Regions from separate parts of the Homo sapiens genome. Here all the other regions are linked to region 1. Evidence: promoter capture Hi-C in human tissues and cell types (Jung and others, 2019). All regions are on one chromosome and are shown on one strand. Each heading gives the region's core, a stretch centred on a gene start or on the middle of the fragment in contact. The rest is flanking DNA. Distances are from core to core; before and after follow the strand shown. Region 1 holds the start of FGFBP2 (fibroblast growth factor binding protein 2). Region 2 has its middle 37 kb from the start of FGFBP1. Region 3 has its middle 20 kb from the start of FGFBP1.

Region 1 (2,595 bases), core at 34-2,533:
CTCAACCTGACAAATTGACTGACTTGTCTTGAAGGTTTGGCACCACTTCTTGGAAGCTTCCTCTGCTCCCCACCTGGGGTGATGCCCTCTTCTGGAAGGCTCTCACTGCTACACACACAGTGGCTGCCGAAGCTCAGCCTGGCTTTAGTTCCAGCCCTACTAGGTCTTCTCAGGACTCAGGATATCCAGGTGGAAGGAAGGCTGTGCCAGGTACCAACTACCCTACGTGGGATCGCCAAGATAAATCCCTCACATTCAAACTAGTCCCCCAACATCCGTCAACCCTATTCCTAACAGCAAATTGCCACCTTTAGTCCACTCCACAGTGCCCTCTGGAAGGGTCATCAAAAGACAGTTATGACCATACCAAACTATGATTCTTGACACAGAATCAAAAGTTATTTTCAATTTATTTTTTTTCTATTGTAGAACAATAATAATAATATTTAAAATCATATTTTCCTGTGATATAATTAAAACTGTGTTATTTCAATTGAATTTGAAATAGAATTCATGGTCTAAAATAGACTGAATCCCACTGTGAACATATATTTGCATGCCTTCCTCGTCATCATTCAGTTGGTGCAATTGTAAGGCATGCAATAACAAGGGAAGTGAACATTGCAGCACTGTGGCCTGTGGCCACGGTGATGGCGGGACAGCCCCACAGAGGCCACACCAGGTGACTCTCAGCTCGGTGGGTGGGAGGGGGAGTGTCTCTGTGTCCCTCTGGCACACACATCCTCACACAACCTCACATAGTCTTTTTTGCATTTGCTAGGCCATCTCATAACACTTAGGCTCATAAAATTCTGGCTTCCTTTGGATTAACTAAACCCATGGTCCCCCAAGATGGGGATTCCAGGGAGCAGGAGGGAGCCTCGAGGCAGCCCAGACTCCCAGCTGCAAACCTCACTTTCCAGAATACCACTGCCACACCTTGGCATATACCAAATGTTGACAAAGAAGGCTGTTCCCGTACAAGGGCCAATTTTAGAGCAAGCACCCTGTGGTTGGAAAACTGTAAAACCCTCAGCCCCAAAGCTGTGTGTGGCGCTTTGTGCGTGACAGGGCTGGGGCAGATCTCTCTGAGGCACTCAGGAAAACCATTCCCTTTGCTTGTGGTGGGCGGCCCCTGGTGGCTGCTCTGCCCTTGCCAAGTGTTACGTGTCTAAGGTCTGTGGGCATGTTTCTCATTTGCTGCAAAACATCCTCCCCACCCTTGCAGAGAAAGAGTCTTTTGTGCAGCACCCTTTAAAGGGTGACTCGTCCCACTTGTGTTCTCTCTCCTGGTGCAGAGTTGCAAGCAAGTTTATCGGAGTATCGCCATGAAGTTCGTCCCCTGCCTCCTGCTGGTGACCTTGTCCTGCCTGGGGACTTTGGGTCAGGCCCCGAGGCAAAAGCAAGGAAGCACTGGGGAGGAATTCCATTTCCAGACTGGAGGGAGAGATTCCTGCACTATGCGTCCCAGCAGCTTGGGGCAAGGTGCTGGAGAAGTCTGGCTTCGTGTCGACTGCCGCAACACAGACCAGACCTACTGGTGTGAGTACAGGGGGCAGCCCAGCATGTGCCAGGCTTTCGCTGCTGACCCCAAACCTTACTGGAATCAAGCCCTGCAGGAGCTGAGGCGCCTTCACCATGCGTGCCAGGGGGCCCCGGTGCTTAGGCCATCCGTGTGCAGGGAGGCTGGACCCCAGGCCCATATGCAGCAGGTGACTTCCAGCCTCAAGGGCAGCCCAGAGCCCAACCAGCAGCCTGAGGCTGGGACGCCATCTCTGAGGCCCAAGGCCACAGTGAAACTCACAGAAGCAACACAGCTGGGAAAGGACTCGATGGAAGAGCTGGGAAAAGCCAAACCCACCACCCGACCCACAGCCAAACCTACCCAGCCTGGACCCAGGCCCGGAGGGAATGAGGAAGCAAAGAAGAAGGCCTGGGAACATTGTTGGAAACCCTTCCAGGCCCTGTGCGCCTTTCTCATCAGCTTCTTCCGAGGGTGACAGGTGAAAGACCCCTACAGGTAATACCCTTTCCTTTACTCATATACAGAGACTACGTGTATATACTTATATACAGAGACTACGTGAGAGGCACTTAGCACTTTCACAGCTGCTGCGACCACATCAGAGTCTCAGCGTGTGTTTGGGGGTGGGTTTGAGGCTGTCTGTTGCAGAGCAGTGTAGATGAGGTAGTTCATCCGGAGTGGCACTTGACCCTGGAGTTGCATAGGAATCACCTACAAGGAGCTCTAAAAATGCTGATGCCCAGGCCCCTCGCCAGACCGTTCCATCTATGTCTCCAACATAGTAGCGCAGGAATGTGGACTTTTAAAACTCTCCCCCAAGTGATTTGAATGTGCAGCCAAGGTTGAGAATCTCCTTGTGATGGAACCACCTCACTGTTAGACCGAGGCCTTTGGAATTCTGCCGGGTAACGTTTCCTAATGAACCAAGCATTTGCTGCAGCTGTTAGTGGCCGAGGTGCTATGTCATGGTGGAGGTGTCGCCACACCCCGTCTTGTTCTCAGTTTTTTCTCCTACAGTCAAGTTAGGGTGGGGAGTGTTGTGCACTGAGGAAAGTTTGAGTCAAATAGTC
Region 2 (2,595 bases), core at 72-2,571, 62 kb after region 1:
CCTAAAAGAACATTAGTTGGGAAGTGGCAAGATAAATCGTAGATATCCATCTAAGGTTTGCAATTGTGAAAAGGGATGCAGAAGATATTTTGGGCTGATATAAAATCAGGCCCAAGGGGAAAAGGCAAAATACAGAACAGTGTGTGTGCAAGATGTTCTCAATTGTATAAGAAAAATATGGACATGTCTATATAAGTATGTTTGTTATATACACAATATATTACTAGAAAGAAATATAACAGTAGCTGTTTAAAAGAGGATAACTGGGGGGAAAGTCTTTTTACTTTATACACATCTGCATTAAAAAATTTTAACGTTCATGTATTGCCGTTTTAATTTAAAAAATTGTTAACAAAATCTATCCATATAATTTAAATACTAAATATTGCCATAAAAGTTGGCAAATAGATGTTGCTACCCACCTTTTCCTTGCCTTTGACCAAGATGAGTAAATCCACCAACCCTGAGAAAGGAAATCTGTCAGTAACCACTTCCCTTAGAAAATTCATTCGCTTTGACTGTCATCTGTGCTTTCATTCTTGCTGATGACTTTTGACAAATTGGGAAAAGACTCCACCAGCGAGGTGTCCCTGAGAGGCCAACTTCAGAAGGGGATCAAGAAAATGAGCCTCCACCTGTTATCTCTCCCTAGTAGCTGGGACTACAGGTGCCTGGTTGTTCAGGGATGGGCTCCAGGCTTGTGCAGGTGTGAATCACCCACTTCTGGATGGCAAATATGGCAGCTGCCAGGCCTGACCTAATGAATTAGAATCTCTGTTATGAGGCTCTGACAGCTACATTTTTAAAATCCCCTCCCTGCCACTTTGAGGTAGTTCTGAGACCCACAGCTTGGTTAACTGCCTCCCTCTCCAATTTACACTTAAATGCCCTGAATTTGGCCTCACTAAAAGATGACAGTTTCCTAATGGACTTCTCAGCAAGATGACATAAAAAGTATCCCCTATGAAGCTGGAGGCAGAATACTGTTCAGTCCCCAACAAGGGTGTCCATGTTCTAATTCCTGGAACCTACATATATGTTATCTTCCACGACCAAAGAAAATTTCCATATCAAGGTAAGGGACTTGAGATGGGGATGGCATCTTGAATATCTAGTTGGGCTCAATCTAATTACATGAACCCCTAAAAGAGAAGACCCTTTCCTAGCTGTAGTCAGAGAGAAATGTGTATGGACAAAAAGAGATGATGGTGCTGGCTTTAAAGATGGAAGATGGGGCTACAGCCAAGGAATGTGGGTGGCCTTTAAAAGATAAAAAACTCAAGGAAACAGATTGTACCCTGAAACTCCTAGAAAAGAACATAGCCCTGCCGACATGTTGATTTTCGTCCGCTGAGACCTGTGTAGGGCTTCTAAGTACTCAGGAGGCTGAGGCAGGAAGATTGGCTTGACCCCAGGAGGTTAAGGCTGCAGCAAGCCATATTTCCAGTACTGTACTCCAGCCTGGGCGACAGGACAAAACCCTGTCTCTAAAAAAAGAAGAAGAAGCAGAAGCAGAAGAGAAGAAGAAGTGGAAGTGGAAGTGGAAATGGAAGAGGAAGCATTAGCAGCAGCAGAAGAAGGAGAAGGAGAAGGAGAGGAAGAAGAAGAGAAGAAGGAGGAGAAGAAGGAAGAAGCAGCAGACACTGCATGGCAGGATTGAGGACCCAATCAGAATAAATTTGTGTGAGATGATAAATTTGTCTTGTTCTGGGCCACTAAATTTGTGATACTATGTTACAGTGGTAATGGGAAGCTAATATATAAATATTTTGGGCAAAAGTGTTCAATGTGAATCTAAGATTACAAGAAATACAGCGACTAAAGGAATGATTTAAATGATATTAGAAAGAAATAACCAGGGCTAGGTATGGTGGCTCACACCTGTAATTCCAGCACTTTGGAATGCCAGTGTGGATGGATTGCTTGAGTCCGGGAGTTCAAGACCAGTCTGGGCAACATGGCGAAAGCCCATTGCTACAAAAAATATGGAAAATTAGCTGGGTGTGGTGGTGCATGCCTGTAATCCCAGCTACTCGGGAGGCTGAGGCAGGAAGATCTCTTGAGCCCAGGAAGTGGAGGTTGCAGTGAGCTGAGATCATGCCATTGCTCTCCAGCCTGGGCCACAGAAGAAAATCCTGTCTAAAAAAAAAAAAAAAAAAAGAAAAAGAAAGAGAAAAAGAGAAAAAAGAAGGAAGCAACCAGCAACCAGGCAAACTAAGATTTAGTATGTTATTGAATCAGCTAATTCTTAGTTTGGCTTTATAGATTGGCTAGATTATTCACAAGGCAATGTTAAGCATAAAAAATCCAAAAGGGACTGCTTTGGGTGAAAACAGACAAAGGAAACATAACCAAAAGTAATATATGATACTTGATTAGATCCTAATAAAGCAGCCTATAAAATACATTCTTGAGGCAAATGGAGAAATTTGAATATAGTCCTTATAGTAGATTATATCATAGAATTATTATTAATATTCTTAGTTATGATAATGTGGTTAGTAGAAGAATATTATTATTCCTGGGAAATACTTGCTGGAACAGTTAGGGGCAAGGTATCATAGTGTCTGCAGCTTACTGGAAAAAAAGAAGGAA
Region 3 (2,595 bases), core at 52-2,551, 45 kb after region 1:
GCTGGGGACCATTTTGGAGTCCTGGTAAGTAAGCAGTCACTAGGAAGGGGCCCCAGGTAGGGCAGGGCCCCACGTGGGGAAGAAAAATGAACAATTGTTATTTGAGAGATGGCTAATCACAAACAACCCACCGAAATTAGCTCCCTCCAGCCCCTGCCTCTTTACACACAGCCCCTTCTCTGCTGTTGCTGCCTGTTGCAACCTTGCAACATATTTTCATACTTTGTCTAATAAATCTGCCTTTCTTTACCTATAACTGTCTTGGTAAATTTTTTTACCACCTGCGAAGTCGGCCCCAACCATTTGTACCTATGATAGCCATGTCTGCCTTATATATCTCTCTGAATTCCCGGCACAGTGCATGGCGTAAAAAATATGTGATCATCAGTAAGAAATCATTCTCAACCAATTATTGCCAATTAAGTTATGTATCCCTTTAAAGTTCACATTCTTAAGCTATAAACACACAATGTCCTAGGGCCTTTCTGACAACTAGAGAAGTTCCAAGGTACTGGGTGCAATGTCTGGTCCATAGGGGTTACTGGAAAACCCAACCAGTTCCTGCTGGTCACTTCCTATTGTAGACTCAGCCCAGTTTCACTTACTCACCTAATGTTCACAAGAGGGAGTCTCCAGAGCTCCTCCAGTGGTCCCCACCGTGTACAGGAGAGGGATTAGGCACAGTGATGGGAAGGGGCAAGTGCCCAGAGCCACTCACCAAGAAGAGACAGAGCTGTGGCTGGGCCAAGCTGACGGACGGATGCAGGAGGCTGGTCAGTGCCCTCAAGGAATATCTAGTGTAATGTGGGAGATAAGCCACTCACAAGTGAAACACTTAAATCCACTGTGGCTGATTAAATGCCAAGTGCTGGCAGAGTCCCAAGTGCGGAAAGAAGAACAGGTATAAGGGAGGAGTCTGCATGGAAATGCTGAAATCTCAGCTGGGTTTTGAGTGAGATAAGAGGAGGAGACAGGGAGGGATTTATAACCAGAGAGAACAGCATGAGCAAGGGCTCAGAGGTGAGAGCAGGTGTGGCCAATCCAGGGGGCAAAAAGGAGAGCCAGACTGTGGGAAAGAACCAAGGTTACCTGACCAAGTCTCTGTTGCATGCCTGCCAGGGCTTTCTATCCTAGTTCATTTCATTTCACCCCTCCCAGAAACTTGTGAGACAGATTTTGTTGTTGTTGCCATTTTAAAGACAGGAAAACTAGGACTCCTTGGGATATGGCAAAGCTGGAATTTGATCCAGGTCTAACAGCAAAACTCTTGAGCTTTTCACTCTGCCTAGGTATATTCCTGCACGGTGCAAAAGGGGCTTCATCGGTGACGAGATCTCCCACTGGAACTTGGGAGATCCTGGTTCTACTTCTGAATAGGCGAGAACCTGGGCAAGTGATTTAGCCACTCTCACCCTCCTTCCCTCCTCTGTAATATGGGACATTAATAATTCCTATTATGCAATGGGAACAGCAGTTCCTGCTACAGTTGACCCTTGAATAATGCAGGGCTTAGCGGAACAAACAAACCCCAGTGCAGTCAAACTTTTGACTTTCCCAAAACTTAATAACCTACTGTTGACCAGAAGCTTTACCAATAACCTAAACAGTCAATTAACACGTTTTGTAGTCGTATGTATTATACACTGTATTCTGAAAATAAAGTTAGCAAGAGAAAAGAAAATGTTATAAGAAAATCATAAGGAAAAGAAAATACATTTACAGTACTGTACTGTATTTATTGATTCTGTAAGTTTACAAGATGAACAGTCAATCTAAAATGGCAGCAACTGCAACTGCAGACCTCAATTGATGGTCCATATCTAGCAATTCGACGTTTTCTTGTATGTCAGCTTGTGACTTTTCTTCTTGGGAGGCCTTCTACCATCACTAAATGGCACTGCCTTTGTATGGGATCCCCTGGTGTTATTCAAGATTTAGGGTATTGCACTTAACATGATGTAAAATACTTGAGAACCACACACTATCACTATTTACTGCAATAAGCAAAATGCTGGAGAAATGAGCTGTTCATGTGGAGTTGATTAGCGTCACAAGGCATTTAGAGTGGATACTCACAACAATTGAGCTCACTGTAATAGCAGCCAGCAGTGGCTACAAAATTATTACAGTAGTACATATAGTATGTGCTACAGTTAATTTTATGCAGTTATGATCTAATACTGCATCCTTACATTTATCTACATTTCTCTTGACTGTGAATGGCGCCATGTATGGTCTGTAAGTGTTTGTGTAAGTTTTGATAAATTTTAAATTTTTATTATAGGTTTGTGTATATTTTCTGGTAATAAATGATAAAATAGACTAGTATCTACATGTATTCTATACATTCACAACATACTTAACTTTTTCTAAATTTTCTATATTTTTGGGATACGTGGTTCATCTGCAAGTTTTTTCAAATTGTCACAAATCTACAAAAAATATATTTATTGAAAAAAATCCACATGTAAGTGGACCTGGATGGTTCAAACCTGTGTAGTTCAAGGGCCAGCTGTATATGCCTGTCTCAGATCAGTCCTGTTTCAGATCAGCCTTGTCTCAGATTAGCCCTGTCTCAGATCAGCCTGGGGGGAA

Evidence for each region. The method cuts DNA at HindIII sites, captures the fragments that hold promoters and counts their contacts. A contact is called where the count stands out against the background at its distance.
Region 2: a contact is called between a fragment that was not itself captured here and the fragment with the promoter of FGFBP2 in region 1, in 3 of the 25 tissues and cell types used here (spleen, stomach and thymus).
Region 3: a fragment that was not itself captured here is called in contact with the fragment with the promoter of FGFBP2 in region 1 in 3 of the 25 tissues and cell types used here (adrenal gland, aorta and spleen).

What each region holds. Positions count from the first base shown.
Region 1 is chr4:15,961,863-15,964,457 of GRCh38, reverse strand. FGFBP2 (fibroblast growth factor binding protein 2) reads left to right here and starts at 1,283. Exons shown (of 2, transcript NM_031950.4): 1 at 1,283-2,020. The coding sequence starts at 1,329. The coding sequence ends at 2,000. RefSeq lists an enhancer at 412-1,253. The HindIII fragment of the contact is 18,537 bases long and covers 1-2,595 here.
Region 2 is chr4:15,900,148-15,902,742 of GRCh38, reverse strand. No RefSeq gene overlaps it. Among named protein-coding and RNA genes, the nearest start is that of FGFBP1, 37 kb to the left of the region's middle. The HindIII fragment of the contact is 6,221 bases long and covers 1-2,595 here.
Region 3 is chr4:15,916,943-15,919,537 of GRCh38, reverse strand. No RefSeq gene overlaps it. Among named protein-coding and RNA genes, the nearest start is that of FGFBP1, 20 kb to the left of the region's middle. The HindIII fragment of the contact is 3,961 bases long and covers 1-2,595 here.